Linked DNA regions of Homo sapiens: region 1 is linked to region 2. The links are contacts of gene promoters, found by promoter capture Hi-C in blood cells and fetal thymus (Javierre and others, 2016). All regions are on one chromosome and are shown on one strand. The core of a region is centred on a gene start or on the middle of the fragment in contact, and the rest is flanking DNA. Distances in the headings are between cores, read along the strand shown. Region 1 holds the start of PPP3R2 (protein phosphatase 3 regulatory subunit B, beta). Region 2 has its middle 110 kb from the start of OR13F1.

Region 1 (4,676 bases), core at 770-3,269, 2.8 Mb before region 2:
AGTGGTTCTCTGTGAGAAAGAGGATTGGTATGGAGGCACAGATGCTGGGACAAGTCCTAGCCCTGCTCTTCTGAGGACAGTTCATGCTCTGAGAACTCACAATAGTATGTGGGACACCTCAGGGAGCTGGTAACATTTGGGGTACAGGCAGTGATGTATTTACTGGTAAACAAATTCTCCAAAACAAAACAAAAACAACTAAAAGCTTTTGTTCTTTTCTCACCATGGCTGATCTAAAGCTACCAACATGACATAAATGCGTGGGAAGAGACACATGCATTCTGGATCTCCCCTGGAACCACAGGCTCCGGCTCACCCAATGGTGGAGATCTGTTAGTGTGTGAGGACTTCTGCACTGAATGTTCCACTAGGGAAAAGGCTTCCTGGAATGAGAGAGCTCTCAGTTTCTCTTCTAGGCCTCAGATCTGATTTTCAAAATCAGCATAGCTGGTGTAGCTAGCATCCACCTCTGCTGTGGAGACACAATTGTCAGTCTCTGCATCTGTGAGCAACAGACATAATGCCACTTTGGCATCCTAGGGAGATTCCACTGCAGCCTGACTCTACTGCCTCTCCTCCGTAGGACAACTAACTAAATGTCTCATTGTCTCCACCTGGGGGTAGGGACCAGTGTCGGAGGTGAGAGCACTTTCTGGGAGAACACTTTGCTTGCCCTATTTAGCTGGAGGTCCCCTTCATTGAAATTAATGCTGGTGTGGGCTGCCAACCCTGGAAACCCACTGCTAATGAGGATGATGGCTGAGCTGGGCACTTAGTCCAGGCTTAGCATTTCCTATAAGAGCCCTGAAGCTAGTTTCTGTTCAGGAGCTGGAGCAACAAGTCAGGAGGAGGCCAAATGAACTCCTACCCCTCAAACATGCACAGCGATTTCTGGATGCATTGTGGGGAATGGGGCTGCAATCTGCCGAAGGAAAAGATGGGATTCTGTCCCCTAAGAAAAGTGATTACGAGATGCCCAGCAAAGACAAATATATTTGTCCCTGTTGCTACAATAGGAAGTTAACAATCTGGCAAGATATCTGAACACAAGCAAATGAAAACAGTTCACCTAACACCCATGCAAATTATAAATTTCCTCCCATATACAAAATGATGAGAAATAACAGCAAAAATGTATACTTTCTTATTTTTGAACTTTTAAAGTTCTAGTTTGGTCTTTGAATCAAAACAAAGTAAAAGATGTTTATAAAAGCCATTTCCTTTTCTTTCCCCACTATGCTCATTTGACTTGCTCTTCCCCCTATAGGGTACCCTGAGTCATTCAGAGAAGGAGAATTAATAGCACTGAGTTGGTGATGAAGCTCCTGTTAGGACATATGGCTTCACAAAAAGAAATACTTCCAGATAAGTCAGAGAGACAGTTGGACGTCTTGAGCAAATCTTGAAAGAGATAGGGAAGAAAGCAGAAGTTGTTGGGTGGTGCTTGTAAGAAAAAGGCTCATACGATGAGGACCAGCTTCTTGTGGATCTCCAGGTCTCTGACCACAGCACTGAATTCCTCAAAGGATATCTTCCCATCGCCATCCTTGTCCAGGATGATGATGGTTTTGTCGACCAGCTGCTGGAGCTGCCAGTCCGTCAGGTTGTTGCCCACCATCATCTTCAGCACCTGGAAGAGCTCCCCGTTGGAAATGTAGCCATCTTTATCCATGTCGTAAATGCTGAACGCAAACCTCAACTTCTGCTCCTCGTCGCCCTTGACGCTGAACTGGGAGGTCCCCAGGATGAATTCCTTGAAGTCCACTTCTCCATCACCGTCGGTGTCGAAGACGTCGATCACTCGCCGCACCAACGGGTTGTGGCGCAGCTCCGGCAGGGACATGAACTCCTCCACGCTCAGAGACCCTGATTTGTCCAAGTCCAACTTCTTAAACCTCCTGCCCAGCCTTTTAATTTCATCATTGTCAAAGTGGGAGCACATCTCCGCCGGGTAACTGGCCTCGTTTCCCATTGTGGACATCTGGCAACGGCCACGGCTCAAAGGGTCGGAGAGGGGAGCAGGGGCGGTGAGCTCGGGCGGGGCTCGTGCCCGGACGGTTGGGCCATGGGGTGGGGGTAGAGGGCTCCCGGGGGCCCTGGTCGAGCAAAAGGGCAGGGGAGCGGAGGGAGGGGCGGCAGGTCAGAGAGGGAGCGGAGAGAGGAGGGAAAGAAGGAGGGAAAAGGGGGCGGAAGGGGAGGTGGGTGCTGTCTGGGCAGGAGTATAGGGAGGAGAGAATGGAGCCTGGGGGTGCCCGGGAGAGGCAGAGGTGGAAAGCTGGGCTGCCCCTTCTCTTTTTCCTTCTCTCAAACTCCTTGTACCTTTCCATGATAACCCCAATTTCCCTGGCAATTATTTTATCTACTTATTTCTTTTTTTTTTTTCTCTGAGAAAGTAAACCCCAAAGGAGAAGGGATCGCACCTGTGTTATTCGCTGCAGTATCCCAGAAGCACAGTGCTTCACAGGCAATATGTGCTTAATAAATATACGCCGAATGACTGAACTGCAACCAAGGACACTGTATACTTGCTTTACAGACCTAGTGTAAGGATGAAACAAGGTGACACATCAAGGCATTGATATAGTATGTTTTCCACGATTCCCTGGGAGGGGAAGCCGGGATTGACATCCTTCTGTACCTTTTTCAGGACGTAGGATTCAGAGTGTTTGTAAGAGACCAGGCAGATACCGCGCAGAATTTCTTACATGGATCACCTACAGGCACTAACATATTCCCGAGGAATATAAACAATGCTGAATTCAGGGCGTTTTTCAAGATGACACAGGTCTCAAGAACACAACCTCTGTTACTCTGTTCCCTCTTATCCATCATCTCATGCCCGAGTCACATCTTTGTTGTTGGTGCCTGGCGGCTATTCTGCAGAATACCTTGGGGGAAGGTCTGCAATGTGCCCAAAGAAGCCTTTTGTGTGTGTTGAGAGTGACAGTCGCCTCTGGATGATCTCACTTTTCTCCTTTTGTTTCAACTAGATTTGTTCTTTCTGTTGAAGACTAATCTCACATGCTCCCTCTTATTCCTTCTTCCTTTCGGAGCGCATCAATTACTCCAAATGCATAAGAAACAAATGTGGTTCAAGAGCAAACAGTTCAAAGGGACTTGGGGGAACCTCAGGCCACTACATCAAACTGAAAGATGCAAACACTCCTTCGCTTTAAAAAATGTTGGCAAGTTCTGTGTTCTATAGTTCAGCCAAAATATCAGTCTAAAGATAACCATGCTGGAACTAGCAAAACTAAGCCACTGATCACCTTATCATTAAGTCTGGCCATTTTACTTTCCTCTATAAACAAATGATAATCCATGGATATGTTTTAAAGCTGATTATGGGCATTACACAAATGAAACCCCCTTTCCCAATTAGACTGTTATATTGGAATGTTTTTTTGTTTCATTTATTTGCTTGCTTTTCAGTTATTCAGAGAAATGAGCATGGTACAGTTTGCATATAAGCCTATTGAATTTGCAATATTAAGGATACCACCTTAAATTATATTACAAGATGCCTAAAATCAGTGTTGGTCTCTAAATGATACCAACCACTATAGCCTGTGTTCTTTCTAAAGCACAAAGACCTTTCTGGACTCTCTGGGGGAAATATCCAGGCCCTGCAGGTGCAGTTCTGAAAAAATCAGAAACCTCAGGGGCAAGGACAGAACTCTATCTTTTGGGCATGCACTGGGGCTGGGAGCCTCTAGAATTGTGTTATTTCTCTCATCTTGTGTCTTTGACCACAGTGTAGTCCAGTTTCTTGGCTGCAAGTAAAAGAATCTACCTCTAAGAAGCTTAACATGAAAGATAATTTGTTGGAAGAATCTCACATAATCTAAAGAAGAGCTGAATGATTCAGTCTTAGGAAGGGTGAGGATCCCACTGGGTTTAAGGAAATATTGGAACCAACGCCTCAGGACCAGTTATGTAATTTGCAGTGTCCTTTGTTTGAAAATGATTGAGAGCTTCAAGATGGCCACAGCAGAACATTAAACCAAGTACGGGACCTTATGAGACTGCGTGGGCCACATGCCCATGAAGCTGGCCCTGCAAGGAGTTGGGCCCATTGACCTCTCTGTGCCTTTCACCTCTGCTTCTCTTTCCTTCACTCTCTCCTATGGTAAAGCAATTCTTCCACATTGCAGAGGACACAACCACTGACAGATTCCAAGTTAAGACTTTGGGGATTTTATCATCAGAAAAGACGGACTTTTCCCTGTTCTAGTTAGATGCCCATAAATCCCATGAACAGGCTCTGATTGGTCTCACTTGGGTTGGGTTCCCACCTATGAGCCATCAGACATGGCTTATAACATATGGGAGCTTCCATTTGAACCTCATGGATGGAGCTGGTCGGGGGGAAGTGGGGGCTGGGTAGGAAGAGCAGGTACCAAAAGAAGCACATGCTCTTCCTTATAAGAACAGGGTAATGCTGAGCAGACAGAACAACAGATGGACATTAGACAGGTCCATTAGTGCTGACTCTATAGGAGAGAGGAAGCATTTTGAACTCCCTTCAGTTTTGCCAACTGAATAGGCCACAGATCCTGCTATAGTTACAGGCCTCCACTAGCTCATTCATTAGTGCCAGGTCCATCTTATTATTTGCTAAAATATCCCTTCACCTCTGTGTAGATAGAATTGGTATCTCACTTGCAGACACTCTT
Region 2 (4,768 bases), core at 1,824-4,323:
TCAAGACACACAGGTGGTCAGTATACATAAGTGAAGTGGAGAGTATCTGAACTGGTTAGGTGCTGGAGGCAAGGATTTATACCTAGGATGTTCTGCCATTGCCAGGTAATGACATCAGCATATGAAGAAAGGCCTTATTCTAATATGATATTTACTGTATCAAAGCAGTTGATAGAAGTAATGTCTTTCTCGTTTTGCTACTTTAATGTGGAAGATTTGCATGTCAGGCTCTCTGTTAGACCCTAAGCTTCTAAAAGTCCAAGTGAGGCCTTACAGGGTGCTTGCCAATTAAGAAGTTAAGATCAGACAGATCTGGTTTCAAATATAAGCTCTGACTCTTCTTAATTTGAGACATGCTGTTTGAACTCTTTTAGCCTCAATCTGTAAAATGGAGATGGTAATAGCCTCTAAATCAGGGTTGCTGTGAAGATTAAATGAAAACATCTGTAAAGCCTGAAACACAGTTAATACTCAATAAATGCAGCCCTTATTGTTTTCAGCACATTGAATTGTTCATGATAATTTATTTGCCTAGCTCCCTAATTAGATTAAACATTTGAAGGCAGAGGTCATGTCCTATACCATCTCCCATTTCATTCTATATTTTCCCCAGTAGACTAATGTTTCTTAGTGTGGTAGTCTAGACCACTGAGATTCTTCAGCTTATCCAAAAAGAGAACCCCTTTGCCCTGCCTAGATTCTGAACAATGTCAAAAATAAAACAATAAAATTGAAGGCCAAAATATTACCAGTGCTACTGATAAAGCTAAGTACAAAAATGACCTTGCGGAAGAGCCAAAGTCACCTTCAAAGACAACTCCTGAACTGGAAAAGTTTACCTACCCAATGTCAGGCAGCACTGGACTAGGGCTGTGGGGAGGCCTGACCAAGTCAGATAAGAGCACAAGGCCAGTTCAGGCTGCCCTCGGGCAGTCTCATTTCCAACCCCGGCCAAGAAAGCTGTGCTAGAGGTGGCCTAGATTTCCAGAGTTTGGGGGCACAATGTGAGGCCAGATATAGATCCTGTAGAAGACAACTGAACTTGATTGTTTTAAAGGATTTCCTATCAAGAGCACCATCTGAAGTGGTGAGTAAACTCTCCAGAGAAAGTCCTGGGATGCCTCTCAGAACCCAAGAACCAAACAGGAAATAATGTGTATTTAGCCAGGGGACACCTCATGTACTCCAGACAAACCTTTCCTGTCCCTTACCTCTCTTTGCTCCCCGTTCCAACACTAGAGAATTCATTCCAACGCTGGAAAAGGAGGACAAGAAGAAAAAGAGAAAATAGGTGAGGGAACCAATATCATCTGCATTTTCCCATTCCAGAATTTTCAGTCTGAAGAAGGGCCAAGCTAGGAAGTGGAAGAAACTTTAAAGTAAATGAAACATTGAAGCCTTAATATAAGCTTGGATTTTTCAGACTGGGAAATAAAACTATTTGTTACTATCTAAAAGATACAGAACATGCTGAGATTTCATCCAGGGATTAGGAAAAATGTTTCTAGAGGATAGGTTGGAAAGGACAATTAACCATAGAGACTGACTTTTTTTTCATAAACAAAACTTAACTATAGAGACCGATTTTTTTAATGTATTTATTCATCATGAGAATTTATATAGAAGTTCTGAAATGGAAAGTCTCTTTTTCTTTCTGAGTTGTGATAGTTAAGAACTGTATGCACAGAGTGGCTCAAGGCTATTTTTCCTGAGAATAAAGCTAAATCAGGAAAAAGCAGAACCAAGAGACTGAAAAGAGGGAGAGGGAGAGAGACAGAAAGAGAGAGAGAGATTTATTATTGATAACATTTTCTGATTTCTAATTCAGACAGGCTTAATGCAAAGTCTCCTCTAGGACTGCAGTTTGTTTAAGACAATGCATTCTTTTTTTTCTAATTAAGCAAGTTATAAGATTGTTTTCTTTCAATTTGCATCAGAAAGAGTTCTCATTAATAAAGCATAATTATTTAGAAGAAATTAAAACTACATGTACTACACATGCTTCACTTCACAATTAAATAAAATCACTGATATTTGAGTAACTTCTTAGCCTTTGTGTTATTCGTATACAACAATGGATAACATGCACTGAACATTTATTATGTATCAAGCACCTTTATATGAACTAACTGAATTCCTATAATGACCTATGAAGTTTTTACTATCTGGTAGGCTCTTTGGCTTATCAATGCAGAAACTGAGAGGTTAAGGAAGTTGTCCACAGCCTCACAGCAAGTAAGTGAAGGAGCAGGGGTTCAAACCCAAGCTGTCCAGCCTACAGCCTACTCCTAATCTCAATGCACAGTCAAAAGAGAAGAAGATAATTGTTAATATGATTGAACAGTGCATACGTCCCAAGGTGTTATGTGAATAAATGCTTTATTGTATCTAAGAACACTGATTATAGAGGCACCTAAGTAAGTGAAATGAGCTATTAGATGAAACATTTCTAATAATGCCAGATCATTTCCAGGATTTTAAGTTACTTAGCTATACTGTGCCTCTCAATATGAGCAGGACCTAGCGCAGTCTGAACCTATGATACTGGTGCTAAAATATATGTTTTTCGGGTTAAGGATACTGTATTAAGTTTTCATGAGAAAACTAAACCATGTGCAGATGGATTGATGCCTGACAGTTTCACTCTTTCACAATACCTAATTTTTTTTTAACCTGCTGGAGAATAAAGTTGTTTGTATATATTATGAGGCATGTTTACTCAAAATCTGAAGGGAAGTTATCAGAGATGTTTAAAACAAGGAGTTGATAGAGACCCATTCACTATTATGTTTCATGTTCAGACATTTTACTTTTCAGCTTTTGAGATGAAATTACAGAGTGTCAAGTAGTCTCTGAAAAAAAAAATCTATCTATACATTTTGGGTCCATTTGAATCTGAATCTCTAGAACCATCTAACAGAGACACTGAACACTATCGTCCTTCCTGATAACTATAGTTGTAAATTAGAATGTTCTAATTTAATGCAAAAATATTGTGGGATCTGGCCAGCAGCCCACAATGCAATGGGGCTCTCTCTTTGTTCCTAGGCGGATCGGCAGGTTGAGAAATAATAGACACACACAAGATAGTGAAAGCTGGGTCCAGGGGGGTCGCTGCCTTCTAGTCCCATGGTGCCAACAATGCACTGGATATACCAGCATTTATTATTAAGTTTAGTGAGGTCAGGGGTAGGTTAGTGAGGGATTTACGGTCATTTGATTATGAGGTGAGATGGTCACATGGGGATGAAGTAATTCTTTAACATAACATCTGTATGCAGAAGTACAGTATACAGGGATAAGAATTTACAATATAGTGTGTGCATCAGTAATTTCTAACAGAGCCTTAAAACAGAAACTTAGTCTTTCCATAACCTATGATTAGCAAGATATTAATCAGCAGTAACAGTTGCAGCAAAAGCTGGTTACAAACAATCCATAGAAACAGGACGTGAAGCTAGACAACGGGTTAGACCAGAAATTCTCAGAAGGGAGTATGCCTTAACCCTAAAGAGGCCTAGAAGAGCCATGGCAAGATGAGGGCGTCTATAGCCCTATCTTATCCATATCGACAGGCGCCCCCATGCGTCCGTTTATAGGCTCTCCACAAGGGTCTCATTCCATTCCCAGAGCTATGAACATCTGCTTTTCTGGGATAGGAATCTTGGTGATATGAAACCTCCCTGACTGCACGTCCATTCATAGGCTCTCTGCAGGGGCAAGCACATCACGTGCTGTTGGCTCATTCTGGCAGTCCAACCTGGGTTGTCGTTACACAATTCTGCATGCAATTTTGTATTTACAATAATCAGGAGCATTTCATCTTTTATTCCGTAGCAATAGTTTCAGGGGGTCTCCCTACAGAAAAATGCATTAAAAAGAATACATCAATGAATATGGGAGTGCATATATAATATACTGTTTTCATTTCCTTTGGATATATATCCAGAACTGGGATTGCTGGATCATATGGTAGTTCCATTTTTAATTTTTTGAGGAATCTCCATACTATTTTCAAAAATGACTGTACCAATTTACAAGCCTACTAAAAGTGTACAAGGGTTCCCTTTTCTCCACATCCTCACCAACACTTACTATCATCTGACTTTTTGATAACAGCCATTCTAACACGTGTGAGGTAATATCACATTGTGTTTATAATTTGCATGTCCCTGATGATTACTGATGCTGAGCATTTTTTCATATACTTTTTCGCCATTTGTATGCTTTTTTGTTTTTTTTTGTTTTTTTTTTTTTTTGGAAATGAACTATCACTCTGTTGCCCAGGCTGGAGTGCAGTGGCGTGATCTCACCTCACTGAAACCTCTGCCTCCAGGGTTCAAGCAATTCTCTGCCTCAGCCTTCTGAGTAGCTGGGATTACAAGTGCCCGCCCCCACACCTGGCTAATTTTTGTATTTTTAGTAGAGACGTGGTTTCACCATCTTGGCCAGCCTGGTCTTGAACTCCTGACCTCATGATCCACCTGCCTCGGCCTCCCAAAGTGCTGAGATTAGAGGTGTGAGCCACCGCACCCAGCCTCTATGTATTCTTTAAAGAAATGTCTACTCAGGTTCTTTGCCCATTTTTAAACCGGGTTCTTTGTTTTCTTACTATTGAATTGTTTGAGTTCCTTATGTATTTTGGATATGAACCCATTATCAGATGTATGGTTTGCAAGTACTTTCTCCCATTCTGCATGCTGCCTCTTCACTGTTATTCATTTCTTTGGCTGTGCAGAAGCTTTTAAATTTGATGCAATACCATTTG

Evidence for each region. Contacts are between HindIII fragments. The CHiCAGO score rates a contact against its expected background, and 5 or more counts as called.
Region 1: the fragment with the promoter of PPP3R2 here is called in contact with a fragment that was not itself captured in region 2 in 2 of 17 cell types (endothelial precursors and M2 macrophages); the score reaches 10.1 in endothelial precursors.

Annotation. Positions count from the first base shown.
Region 1 is chr9:101,592,950-101,597,625 of GRCh38, forward strand. It overlaps PPP3R2 (protein phosphatase 3 regulatory subunit B, beta), which reads right to left and starts at 2,020. Exons shown (of 1, transcript NM_147180.4): 1 at 1-2,020. The coding sequence starts at 1,972. The coding sequence ends at 1,460. The region is part of intron 6 of GRIN3A (glutamate ionotropic receptor NMDA type subunit 3A); the gene reads right to left. LOC105376186 (a long non-coding RNA gene) reads left to right here and starts at 2,025. Exons shown (of 3, transcript XR_001746863.2): 1 at 2,025-2,139; 2 at 2,394-2,559; 3 at 2,648-2,866. The HindIII fragment of the contact is 3,598 bases long and covers 204-3,801 here.
Region 2 is chr9:104,391,530-104,396,297 of GRCh38, forward strand. No RefSeq gene overlaps it. Among named protein-coding and RNA genes, the nearest start is that of OR13F1, 110 kb to the right of the region's middle. The HindIII fragment of the contact is 3,332 bases long and covers 1,408-4,739 here.